Regions from separate parts of the Homo sapiens genome. Here all the other regions are linked to region 2. The links are contacts of gene promoters, found by promoter capture Hi-C in human tissues and cell types (Jung and others, 2019). All regions are on one chromosome and are shown on one strand. The core of a region is centred on a gene start or on the middle of the fragment in contact, and the rest is flanking DNA. Distances in the headings are between cores, read along the strand shown. Region 1 has its middle 70 kb from the start of SCAF4. Region 2 holds the start of URB1 (URB1 ribosome biogenesis factor). Region 3 overlaps LOC124905008 (a long non-coding RNA gene).

The links. Contacts are between HindIII fragments. The study calls those that stand out against the background at their distance.
Region 1: a fragment that was not itself captured here is called in contact with the fragment with the promoter of URB1 in region 2 in 2 of the 25 tissues and cell types used here (lymphoblastoid cells and mesendoderm cells).
Region 3: a fragment that was not itself captured here is called in contact with the fragment with the promoter of URB1 in region 2 in 1 of the 25 tissues and cell types used here (thymus).

The regions. Positions count from the first base shown.
Region 1 is chr21:31,800,500-31,804,612 of GRCh38, reverse strand. No RefSeq gene overlaps it. Among named protein-coding and RNA genes, the nearest start is that of SCAF4, 70 kb to the right of the region's middle. RefSeq lists enhancers at 3,407-3,907, 3,908-4,113. The HindIII fragment of the contact is 3,044 bases long and covers 714-3,757 here.
Region 2 is chr21:32,389,899-32,394,324 of GRCh38, reverse strand. URB1 (URB1 ribosome biogenesis factor) reads left to right here and starts at 1,313. Exons shown (of 39, transcript NM_014825.3): 1 at 1,313-1,556. The coding sequence starts at 1,415. URB1-AS1 (URB1 antisense RNA 1 (head to head)) reads right to left here and starts at 1,192. Exons shown (of 1, transcript NR_026845.1): 1 at 365-1,192. RefSeq lists enhancers at 711-960, 483-1,264, 1,111-1,405, 1,265-2,047. The HindIII fragment of the contact is 16,791 bases long and covers 1-4,426 here.
Region 3 is chr21:31,737,493-31,741,926 of GRCh38, reverse strand. All of the region lies in intron 1 of LOC124905008 (a long non-coding RNA gene), which reads right to left. Among named protein-coding and RNA genes, the nearest start is that of SCAF4, 7.6 kb to the right of the region's middle. The HindIII fragment of the contact is 5,403 bases long and covers 1-4,129 here.

The DNA.
Region 1 (4,113 bases), core at 986-3,485, 590 kb after region 2:
GGCAGGAGAATCACTTGAACCCAGGAGGCAGAGGTTGCAGTAAGCCAAGACTGCACCACTGCACTCCAGCCTGGGCAACAGCGCCAGACTCTGTCTTGAAAGAAAGAGAAAGAAAGAAAGAAAGAAAGAGAGAGAGAGAGAGAGAAGGAAGGAAGGAAGGAAGGAAGGAAGGAAGGAAGGAAGGAAGGAAGGAAGGAAGGAGAAAAGAAAAAGAAAGAAAGAAAGAAAAAAAGAAAGAAAGAAAGAAAGAAAGAAAGAAAGAGAAAAATAAAGGGCTACCTCCTGTTGTTTTAACCAAGAACTCTTCTCCAAATCTAGGAATCGTTCCCGTACATAGTCTCTGTCTGACACCCACGCTCAGGTAGGCCTCATCAATCTTGTTTTCTGACACTGATGAGCTCTCTCGGGTTTTTAGATCCTTTCCAGGTGTACACCATTGTCTGCACTATATTTCCAGCCACTTCCTCCTTTCAGGGTTTCACCATTGCCTTTGACTTTTGCTAAAAAGTCTGAGGTTTTTTTCCACCCTGGAAATGCCTTGTCCCTTTGTCCTCTTTGTATAAACAGATGCTTCCTAATCGTCTCCCTCATCCTAGGTCTTTGCCAACAGTCACCCAATTACAGTCAGATTCCAGTAATGTCTTAGAGAGACAGTGCCTCAGTTGGAAGCTTAAATGCAGCCTTGAGCTTCTTTCCTCCATGCAAACCCGGGACTCTTCAAATTCTTCTCCGGTTATGTAACTGTAATTCCCATAAGCTTTCTCCCAAAATGTTCGTCATATAGTACCTTCAAGCGTACATAACTCTAATAACTTACGTTTGTTTAAACATGCATTAAATTGAAATAGAACTATGAGCCACCTGGGACCCAGGCATTTCATTTCAGGGTTTAGCCATTGCTTTCCTTTATGCGTAAGCAGGTAAACCTGTTGTGTCAAGAAAGAAAATGCTTGGCGAAGAACTGAAATATTCTCACCCATATTAATGACATTTCAGCAAGCTTTTCCGAACCCAACCTCTTACTCACCGTGTGAAGGACTCTCAGAGCTGTAGGAACAGCAGGGCAAAAAGCTGAGTGTTTGCCTACTTCCTCTCATGCCAAGGGGGCCGAGAGAAGGATGAAGGAGTGTGCCTGGGTTGCTCAAGGAAAAAGCAATCTGAATTTGCTGGGATTTGGAGGAGGAGCACCTTGGAGATCCGTACTTGTTCCCTACTTACACGGTTAGCTACTGCAGCCACTAGTCACATGCGGCTATTTACATTTTAATTGAATAGAATTAAGTAAAATTGAAAATGTGGTTTCTCGATCACACTAGTCACATTTGAAGTGTTCAAGTGCTACAGGTGGCTGGTGGCTAGTTTAATAGGACGGTGCAGGTACAGAACATTCCCATCATTTTGAAAAGTTCTAGTGCATCGCTCTGATCTATAATGTAAGTAATGCTTATAAGAAAGACCGATAAGCGAAATTTCTTTTTTTTTTTTTTTTTTTTGAGACCAAGTCTCACTCTGCCACCCAGGCTGGAGTGCAGTTGTGCAATCTCGGCTCACTGCAACCTCCGCCTACCAGGTTCAAGCGATTCTCCTGCCTCAGCCTCCCAAGTACCTGGGACTACAGGCGCCCACTACCACGCCTGGCTAAGTTTTGCATTTTTAGAAGACACGAGGCTTCACCCTGTTGGCCAGGCTGGTCTCAAACTCCTGACCTTAAGTGATCCACCCACGTCCGCCTCCCAAAGTGCTGAGATTACAGGTGTGAGCCACTGTGCCTGGAGAAATTTCTACTTTTAAAATGAACATTGAGAAAATATAAAGTGAACTTTGCTGACTACAGTAAGAGTAAAACAATTTTTTCAAAAGGATGATTCCTAGGTGCTTTGTCAACACAAGTCAAAGAAAGGAATGAAAGACCGAGAGAAAAAAGGAAGAATAACCAGATGGGTATCAGCACTGAAGGGGCTCACCGAAGACCAAGGGAACCCATCAATTCTAAGCGGGTAAAAAAAAAAAAAAAAAACAGTGACCCGAGGTTGACTTGTCTGAAATGCTGTCGGGAGGCAGGAAGCACTTTGTCATTTAGAAAATGTGAGCCTGCAGGCACAGGGTCACAGGCCATGCTGGCCTTTGGTGAGTCAATTTTAAAAACGTGAACATTGTGCGCATGTACCCTAAAACTTAAAGTATAATAATAATAAAATTTAAAAAAAAAGTAATATGAGGGAGGAGATTGTTCCCTTTAAATAGCCCTTAACCCCTATTTACACATCTTTCCCTTTCCTTAAGACCACACTGGGTCAGTTTTGCAATAATTTATGAGGGCACCACTGTTGGGATGGGGGTTGGGGGGACACCCAGAGGCCAAGGAACTCTTGTCCAAACCTGTCAGGAGAGAAACCCCAGGAATCTGTAATTTCCAGGAATCTTTGATATTCAGACTCCAGGGCTCAAATGTCTCCATCTGTCTGTGTTTTTAAACCACTGCTTTACTTGGTAAGACTCCACCCCTCCCTCCACTACCAAACAGTAAATGGCTAGTGTGTATTGTACTGCCATATCGATTTTTCAAGGCTCATGTATAGCAGTCCTGCAAGAGTAGCCTCCATTTCTGGAATTCTACGATATTGTGAAACACGTCTGGTTTTCATCTTGTTTCCTGGCATATAATTCCTAAAATCCTCAGAGTCTCCAAAGTGATGTCTTCTCTATGTAAATGATTTGACTGATGACTGGCAACCCCTAGATAACTTTGGGATGGGGGCTGGTCACCAGAAAGACCAAGGCGGGATTAGAGGGTTGGGACTTTCAGCCCCCTCCCCAACCTCAGCAAAGGGGAGAGGGGTTGAAGGTCAAGTTGTTCACCAATGCCCAATGATGTCATCAATCATGCCTGCGTAATGAAGCTTACATAAAAACCCGAAAGGACGGGGTTCAGAGAGCCAGCAGATAGCCAGACACACAGGGGCTTACACAACAACCATGTGCCTGGACCGTGGCGCACCCCAACTCCACGGGGACAGAAGCTCTGGGCTCAGGACTCCTCCAGACCTCCTCCTGTGTATCTCTTCATCTGAGTGTTTATTTGTATCTTTTCGTTGTTGTTGTTTGAAAGGAGTATCACTCTGTCGCCCAGGCTGGAGTGCAGTGGCTCAATCTTGGCTCACTGCAACCTCTGCCTCCTGGGGTTCAAGCGATTCTCCTGCCTCAGCCTCCCGAGTAGCTGGGATTACAAGCACCTGCCACCACACCCAGCTAATTTTTGTGTTTTCAGTAGAGACAGGGTTTCACCATGTTAGCCAGGTTAGTCTCGAACTCCTGACCTCAGGTAATCCGCCCCCCTCGGCATCCCAAAGTGCTGGGATTACAGGTGTGAGCCACCGTGCCCAGCCTCATTTGTATATCTTAAAATATCCTTTGTAATAAACTGGTAAACATAAGGATTTCCTGAAGTCTGTGAGCAGCTCCAGCAAATTAATCGAACCAAAGGAGGAGGTTGTGGGAACCCCAATTCAGAGCTGGTGAGTCACAAGCACAGGCAAAATAACCAGGGGCTTATGATTGGCATCAGAAGAGGGGGGCAGCCTTGGGGGCTGAGCCCCTGGCCCTGTGGGATGTGACGCTAGCTCCAGGTAGATGGCATTCAACTGGAGTACAGCCAGCTGGTGTCCGCTGCAGACTGATTGCTTGCTTGGAGTGTGGGGGAAACTCACACACATTTGGTCTCAGAAGTCTTCTATGTTAATTGTTGTGGAGTGAGAGAATAGAAATAACACTTTGAGCTTGTTTTTACTCAGGCTTTATAAGAGCTCTGAGGAAAATCGGCTCTGCTGACTGCTCACTCCATCCCACCTGCGTGGTGGGCTGGCAGAGGGGCAGCCTGATCCAGGGAAGCTCTGGAATTGGCATGCCCCCCATGAGCAGGACTGAGGCAGACCTGTCTGGGCGTGCACTTTCTTATTCAGGAGACCCCAGCCGAGGGTGGAGCCGCAAAGCACAGGATCCCATCCGATCTGTGTGTCACTGCTCAGTGACAATAGCCGGGGAGCTGCTTACAGCAGCTCCGCAGATTGGCAGCAGGTCCGAGACTGATGACTGCTAGCAGCAAAATCAGCCTGT
Region 2 (4,426 bases), core at 64-2,563:
TCCCCTCTCTTAACATTGCTGCATTAGCTCATATCTGCTAGGGGTGACACCCTCTCTCTGACCTGCCTACAACATAGACATCTCCACAGGCACAATCATCTTGTCGGGACAGAGGCTCAGCGTCAACACACGTGCTTTTTCTACTAGAAACTCTGAGACCCCAACAGGCCACAAAAGCCCACATCCTCAGATGTTCAAAACACATCTGCTTACAGAATATGAAACACAATTTTCTTAGACTAGAGGACAACCTGATGGAGAATTTCAGTAATCACCAAGTTACTTATCTAATGCGCTGGTTCATGATTTATTTGGACACATACCTAAGTATCGATGAAGTCGTATTAAAATATGTACCAGCCTGTTTTTACTTATTTTTACTTTCATTTTATTTCAGAGCATTTAATGCGGTTTACAAATCAATCACATCTTCCAAAAACACACTGTGTTGTTTTTCTCCTCAAAGCAGTTTTTCATACATTGCATCATTTTCTGTTCATAACAGTCCCAAGGACTGGATAGGGTCGGCTTTGCTGTCTCCATTTTAATGACAGGAACTTAGATGTGGAGGCCTTACGCTGTCCAGGAAGGGGTTTTACAGACGTTACTTCGTTTGGTCTTCTCCTCCCACCCTGCACGGCGCAAAGAGCCCATCAGTTTGCGGAAGTCTGGGGTGGAGGACAGTCTGGAGTGACAGGCTGCTACCAGACCAGTCGATCTGGTTCGGGCTGTGACATAAGCTAGGGGTCGAAGTCAGGGGCACCCGCACAGGCGGACCTGCCTGGCACCTAGCCAAGGCGAATCCACCTTCCCGGCCAGCCACCAGGGCCTTGAATTGGCAAAGTATCGAATCCTGTTGTGTGTGAAGCAAGCTCTTCATGCGACACCTTCAGGGCGACCTCGGGTCAAGAACTACTCATTGTGCTGCTTGGACGCGCCGGGGCCCGAGTCTTCGTGGATCGGCCAGGCCAGGAGTGAAAGGTCTGGGAGTTCTTCCGGCCAAGAGCACCCGAAGAGCCACTGGGATCAGAAATGCGCCCCGGTGGACCCCAAACCCTGCAGCCGGGGGCGGGGGGTGTCGTGGAGTGTCCGCTCGCCCCATGCCGTGACCGGGACAACCGGTACAGCAAACTCACATGGAGCCCCAAGACTCTGGATCCCCAAGACTCTGGATCCCTATCGCCCCGCCCCTTCTGCAGGCCACGCCCCTTCCGCCGGTCCCAGCCTCGCGCGGGTCGGCCCCTTCCGCCGGCCTTTCCCCGAGCCCCGCCTCTTCCGCCAGCCCCGCCTCTTCCGCCAGCCCCGCCTCTTCCTGCGCCATGTGGGCCTGAAGCGCGTGTCTGCTGTCTGTGCCAGTGCTCCTGCCGGGTCCCCTCAGGTGTGTCGTTTCCGTCGCGCTTCCGCCCTCTCGGCCATGGGGGTCCCCAAGAGGAAGGCCTCGGGCGGCCAGGACGGCGCGGCTTCCTCCGCGGGTGCAGCCAAGCGCGCCCGCAAAGAAGAGCTCACGGGCGTGCGGTTCAAGGCTCAGCTGAAGGACCCGCAGGGCCCCGGGCCAGGTGAGTCCGGGGCGGCAGGCGCAGGGTCGGGAGCACAGGCTGGCGAGGCGGCCTCCGTGTGCCGGGCACAGCCTCTCCTTTCTGCAGCTTTCGGGTCACATAGGCTCAGTGGCAAGCCTCTGGTTTGCAGAAAACTGAGGTTCAGGACTGCTGTGTACTTCCTTGCTCTGGACTGTCGGCGACAGCGAGAGGGCCCCGACTTGCTTGATTGGGACCGTTTCATGTTACAACACATTTATTTCCCTTGCCCAGGCAGCATCCCTCAGCGAGCTCTAAAACCTCTTTATTGCAGTTGTCAGGGAAGTAAATGAAGTGTCCTTCTCTATTGAGTCCTTACTGAGTCGGCTCAGGACGGTTCATGAGACAGTTTGCTACTCCTTGGGCCGTCAGCACCGTTTTCAATAGCTTCCATCCCCCAACACTCATACTGACTTGATGACTTGTAACAAGCTACTAGAAGCCACCACAGCTACTTGTCAGTTGACCAGGAATGGGCCAGTGACTGAGATGTAGCCGACTCTATAATTTAATTACACTTTTTGTAAAGTGTGACCACCCTTCGCGACTACTTGTAATCGTTTGGAAAGTAACATGGTTTGGGAAAAACGCAATTGAACGTGTTGCCATGTGGAAGCATTGCTCTAAAATAAAACAGTGGCAGTTTTTCTCCCAGGTTAAATAAACGATTAAATTAATGGCCAAAATATCTTCAACTTCCAATTTTTGTCCTCATTTTTTTTTTTAAACGACAGGGTCTTGCTCTGTTGCCCAGGCTGAAGTGCAGTGGCACTATCATAGCTCACTGCAGCCTTGAACTTCTGGGCTTAAGCTGTCCTCCCACCTCAGCCTCCCAAGTAGCTGAGATTGTAGGTGCACAACACCATGCCCAGCTATGTTTTTTTTTTTTTTTTTACTTTTTGTAGAGATGGAATCTCACTATGTTGTCCAGGCTGCCCTCGAACTCCCAGTCTCAAGCAATCTTCCCACCTTGTCTTCTCAAAGGGCTGGGAGTATAGGTATGAGCCACCACACCTGGCCTGTTTTTAAACTTTGATACCTATACCTGTACTTGCTAGTCACAGCTAGGAAGATGATACTTAGTTAGCATAGAGTTATTTATTTCCGAATTCATTAAGTATTACTAGAGGCTATTATTTGCTACGGTAGAGATAAAGTGATGAATAAAAATGTCAAAAAGCCTCTGCCATTGTGGGGTTTACAAACAGTCGAGTGGGGCAGGCAGATATTGGTCAGTAAAATCACATACATACAGTTTCAAGCACGAGTTTTCCAAAGGAGAGGTACATGGTGCCTGAGGGTGTTTAACAGACCTTGGATCTAATCTGGGAGCTCAAAGAAGGCTCCCCTGAGGAAGTGGCTTTTCTTTTCTTTTTTTTTTAATCATACTTTAAGTTTTAGGGTACATGTGCACAACGTGCCCCTTTGTTACATATGTATACATGTGCCATGTTGGTGTCCTGCACCCATTAACTCGTCATTTAACCTTAGGTATATCTCCTAATGCTGTCCCTCCCCCCTCCCCCCGACCCGACAACAGGCCCCGGTGTGTGATGTTCCCCTTCCTGTGTCCATGTGTTCTCATTGTTCAGTTCCCACCTATGAGTGAGAACATGCGGTGTTTGGTTTTTTGTCCTTGCGATAGTTTGCTGAGAATGATGGTTTCCAGCTTCATCCATGTCCCTACAAAGGACATGAACTCATCGTTTTTTATGGCTGCATAGTATTCCATGGTGTATATGTGCCACATTGTCTTAATCCAGTCTATCATTGTTGGACATTTGGGTTGGTTCCAAGTCTTTGCTATTGTGAATAGTGCCACAGTAAACGTACGTGTGCATGTGTCTTGATAGCAGTATGATTTATAATCCTTTGGGTATATACCCAGTAATGGGATGACTGGGTCAAATGGTATTTCTAGTTCTAGATCCCTGAGGAATCGCCACACTGACTTCCACAATGGTTGAACTAGTTTACAGTCCCACCAACAGTGTAAAAGTGTTCCCATTTCTCCACATCCTCTCCAGCACCTGTTGTTTCCTGACTTTTTAATGATCGCCATTCTAATTGGTGTGAGATGGTATCTCATTGTGGTTTTGATTTGCATTTCTCTGATGGATCTAATTAAACTAAAGAGCTTGTGCACAGCAAAAGAAACTACCATCAGAGTGAACAGGCGACCTACAGAATGGGAGAAAATTTTTGCAATCTACTCATCTGACAAAGGGCTAATATCCAGAATCTACAATGAACTCAAACAAATTTACAAGAAAAAAAAAAACCCCATCAAAAAGTGGGCAAAGGATATGAACAGACACTTCTCAAAAGAAGACATTTATGCAGCCAAAAGACACATGAAAAAATGCTCATCATCACTGGCCATCAGAGGAAGTGGCTTTTCAAAAGGATTGTAGGATGGGACAGGGACAGGAACCTTACTGGCAGAAGAAAGAGCACGTTTAATTGTTAAAAAGATGTAGTATCTATATTTCATGGTCTTGCACAGAGAGCCTCATGACATTCAGGTGCTACATCATTTGAACACATGTCAGAAGGAGACCCAGGTTGACAGGGCATGGGTGTAGGTGAGTAGTTGAAAGATGGGGCAAAGCTGAGTCAATGGGTGAAAGTGTGGATCCCTTGTTTGAGGCTGTGTTGAACTTGTGTTTGAATCTGGTCTGTATCTTGGATTCTCTCCTCCTCTCTTCCTCTTTATACGCTCTCATAACCTATGATAGGATTGCTGGAAGATCAGGGAAGTGAAGTTGATGGCTGTTAGGAGACTTTGTTTTCACCAGGCATGTGAGGGAAGGGTTCTGATGATGCTCCCTTCGTGTAGTGGAGGAACAAGA
Region 3 (4,434 bases), core at 179-2,678, 650 kb after region 2:
TACACAAAGCTATTGAAAGGAGAAATAAATACATGCACAATCACATCAGGAGACATCAAATCTCCTCTCTAATTGACATAATAAGCAGGTAGAAAAAGAATAGAAATCTAGAAGACTTAAATAATACCATCAACCAACTTGATCCAAGAGACGTTAACAGAACCTAACAAGAGCGGAATATATATTATTATCCTACCTAACAAGAGCGGAATATATATTATTATCCTACCTAACAAGAGCGGAATATATATTATTATCCTACCTAACAAGAGCGGAATATATATTATTTTAAAGTGCACATGGAGCAATCATCTAGGTAGACCATGAATTGAGCCACAAAACAAGTCACAATAATTAAAAAAAAACTGAAATCATATGAAGTATGATATGTGACTATAATGGAATTCGATTAGTATAATCAATCACAGAAAGATAACAGAAATTCCCAACTATTTGGAATTTAAACAATACTTTCATAAATAAGAACTTAGGGAAAAGAAAAACTCCCAAGGGAAATTACAAAATATTTTGAACTAAATATTTAAGAAATACAACACTCCAAAATTTGAGAAGTAAATTTAAAGTTTTAAATGCTTACAATACAAAAAAAAAAAAAAAAAAAAAGGCTCGGCTGGGCGTGTTGGCTCACGCCTGAGGTCAAGAGTTCGAGACCAGTCTGGCCAACATGATGAAACCCCATCTCTACTAAACATAAAAAAAAATTAGCCGGGCATGGTGGTATGTGCCTGTAATCCCAGCTACTCAGGAAGCTGCAACAGGAGAATTGCTTGAACTAGGGAGGTGGAGGTTGCAGTGAGCCGAGATGGTGCCACTGCACTCCAGCCTGGGTGGCAGAGCGAGACTCCATCTCAAAAAAAAAAAAAAAGGCTAAAATCAATGATCTAGGCCTCCACTTTAAGAAACCGGAAAAGAGGCCGGACACAGTGGCTCACCCCTGTAATCCAAGCACTTAGGGAGGCCGAGGTGGGCAGATCACAAGGTCAGGAGTTCAAGACTAGCCTGGCCAAAATGGTGAAACCCCGTCTCTACTAAAAATACAAAAATTAGCCAGGCATGGTGGCGCACACCTGTAGTCCCAGCTACTCAGGAGGTTGAGGCAGGAAAATTGCTTGAACCCGGGAGGCAGAGGTTGTGGTGAGCCAAGATCACCCCACTGCACTCCAGCCTGGGCGACAGAGTGAGACATTGTCTCAAAAAAAAAAAAAAAAAAAAAACTTGAAAAGAGCAAATTAAATATAAAGGAAGCAGAAGAAAGGAAATAAGAGTGAAAATCAATGAACTAGAAAGTCCACAAACAATAGAGCTAATCAATGAAACCAAAAACTGTTTCTTTGGTTTTTGGAACAACAAAATAGATGAATCTCTAACCTCACTCAACAAGAAAAGAAAAAAAAGAAGATAGAAATTATCAATATCAGAAATGAAAGAGGAAATATCACTACAGACATTAAAAGGGTAATAACAGAATATCATGGAAAAACTTTATGCAATAAATTGACAACCTTTAAATGGACAATTTTCTGAAAAAAATACAAATGATCAAAACTCCCTCGAGAAACAGAAGACCTGAAGAACACTATATCAATTTTAAAAATTGATTAATATAAAACCCTCTCATAAGCAAAACTTTAGGCCCAAGTGGCTTCATTGGTGAATTCTAACAAATCTTAAGAAAGAAATAATATCAATTCCACACAGGCTATTTTAGAAAATAGAGAAGGAGGTCGGGTGTGGTGGTTCACACCTGTAATCCCAGCACTTTGGGAGGCCGAGGCAGGTGGATCACCTGAGGTCAGGAGTTCGAGACCAGCCTGGCCAACATGGTGAAACCCCATCTCTAGTAAAAATACAAAAATTAGCTGGGCATGGTGGCAGCTGCCTGTAATCCCAGCTACTTGAGAGGCTGAGGCAGGAGAATCGCTTGAACCCAGGAGGTTGCAGTGAGCCAAGATCGCACCACTGCCCTCCAGCCGGGTGACAAGAGCAAAACGCTATCTAAAAAAAAAAAAAAAAAAAATAGATAACAGGGAAGGAGAGAAGCACTTATCAAATAATTTGATGAGAGCAAGCTACCCCGACACCAAAACCATTACAAGAAAAGGAAAACAGAGACCACCAATACCACTCATGAATATAGAAGGAAATATTTTGACAGACAGAATCTTTGCAAATTGAACCCGGCAACATATAAAAAAAGTAATATCCCATAACCAAGTGGATTTTATTATAGGAATGCCAGGTTGGTTTCACATTCAAAAACCAATCACAGTAATTCATTAATATAATAGAATAGACAAAATCACATAATCATCCCAATGAATATAGCCATGGTATCTGACAACATTAACACCCATTTGTGATTTTTGTTGTTGTTGTTGTTGTTTTGTTTTTTGAGACGGAGTCTCACCCTGTTGCCCAGGCTGGAGTGCAATGGCGTGATCTCGGCTCCCTGCAACCTCTGCCTCCCAGGTTCAAGCAATTCTCCTGCCCCAGCCTCCCAAGTAGCTGGGATTACAGGTGCACAGGCGAGCGCCACCATGACCAGCTAATTTTTTGTATCTTTAATAGAGACGGGGGTTCACCACGTTGGCCAGGCTGGTCTCAAACTCCTGACCTCGTGATCCGCCCACCTCGGCCTCCCAGAGTGCTGGGATTACAGGCGTGAGCCACCACGCCTAGCCAGCATACTTCCTATTTTGTCTTGTTTTCAGTTGTGTGGGGTGTTTTTTTTTTTTTGAAATTAACAAGTTGATTTAAAAATTTATATAGAAATGCAAAGATTACAGCATAGTGAAAACAATTTTTAAAAGAACTATGTTGGAGACTTTAACTGATTTACTTGAATTACTAGAGAAATTAAGACAGTGGGCTATGTATATGCAAGAAAAGTATATAGATATATATAAAGGAACAGAGTACACATACGTGGAACTAGATCCACACATATGTGGTCAACTGATTTTCAACAAAGGAGGCAAAGTAATTCAATGGGGGAAATGATCTTTTTTTCCAACAAATAGTGCTGGAACAACTAGATATCCTAATGTAAAAAAATGAAGCTTGATATTTATCTTATCTCATACACATATATTAAATCAAAATGGATCACAGACTTAAACAAAAGTGCTAAGCTATAAAGAGTCAAGAAGAAAATAGAGGAGAACATTTCCATATCCTGGGGATAAGCAAAAATTTTTCAATATGACAGAAAAGCACAAACCATAAAAGAAAAAAGTATAAATTATATCCATCAAAATTAAAAACATCTGCTTTTCAAAAGAAAATGAAAAGGAAAGCCACAGACTGTGAGGAAATGTTTACAACACACATATCTGACAAAGGACTCATATCATTCAATAGCTTCCTATTGAAGCTTCCAAATGATCCGTTTTTTTAAAGGGCAAACGATTTGAACACTTTACTAAAGAAAGTATACATGGCCGGGTGCGGTGGCTCACGCCTGTAATCCCAGCACTTTGGGAGGCCGAGGTGGGGGGATCACAAGGTCAGGAGTTCAAGACCAGCCTGGCCAACATGGTGAAACTCTGTCTCTACTAAAAATACAAAAATAAGGTGGGCATGGTGGCATGTGCCTGTAATCCCAGCTATTCGGGAGGCTGAGGCAGGAGAATCACTGGAATCTGGGAGGCGGAGGTTGCAGTGAGCCGAGATCCAGCCACTGCACTCCAGCCTGGGTGACAGAGCAAGACCCCATCTCAAAAAAAAAAGGAAAAGAAAGTATACATATGGCCAATATACACATGGAAAATACTCAACATCAGGGCAAGGTGCCAGACTCTGGAGGAATAGTTCCTCGAGGAAGGAACTTATCTGTGTTTGGGCTTATCACAGTATTCCACACACCTAGCACAGTGCCTGTCCACAAGAGATGTACACATTTATTTTCTGAATGAATGAAACAGCAAATGTTGGACTGGCGTGGCCTAGTCCTAAAAGGTGACATTTCACTTCAGATGAGACTGGTTTTTAATACTTTCCATTTTGGAAAGAGAATCTTGGATTCCTAATCCTAAGTAAGATAGGAAGTGATGAAGAGAAATTGTTTTCCTTTATTAGTTACTCATATGCTCACTGTTGCAATCATAGCTAAGATGACATCCAGAACATTTTAGGTTTGCTGCATACTTACTTGTATGTTTACTTTTTTAAGGAGCTTACTCTTTCTGACAATAAAACTGGCCTGGTGTGGTGGCTCATGCCTGTAATCCCAGTACATTGAGAGGCCAAGGAGGGCGGATCACCTGAGGTCAGGAGTTCGAGACCAGCCTGACCAACATGGCAAAACCGCATCTCTACTAAAAATACAAAAAAAAAAAAAAAAAACCAGCCAGGCACGATGGCGGATGCCTATAATCTCAGCTGCTCAGGAGGCTGAGGCAGGAGAATCGCTTG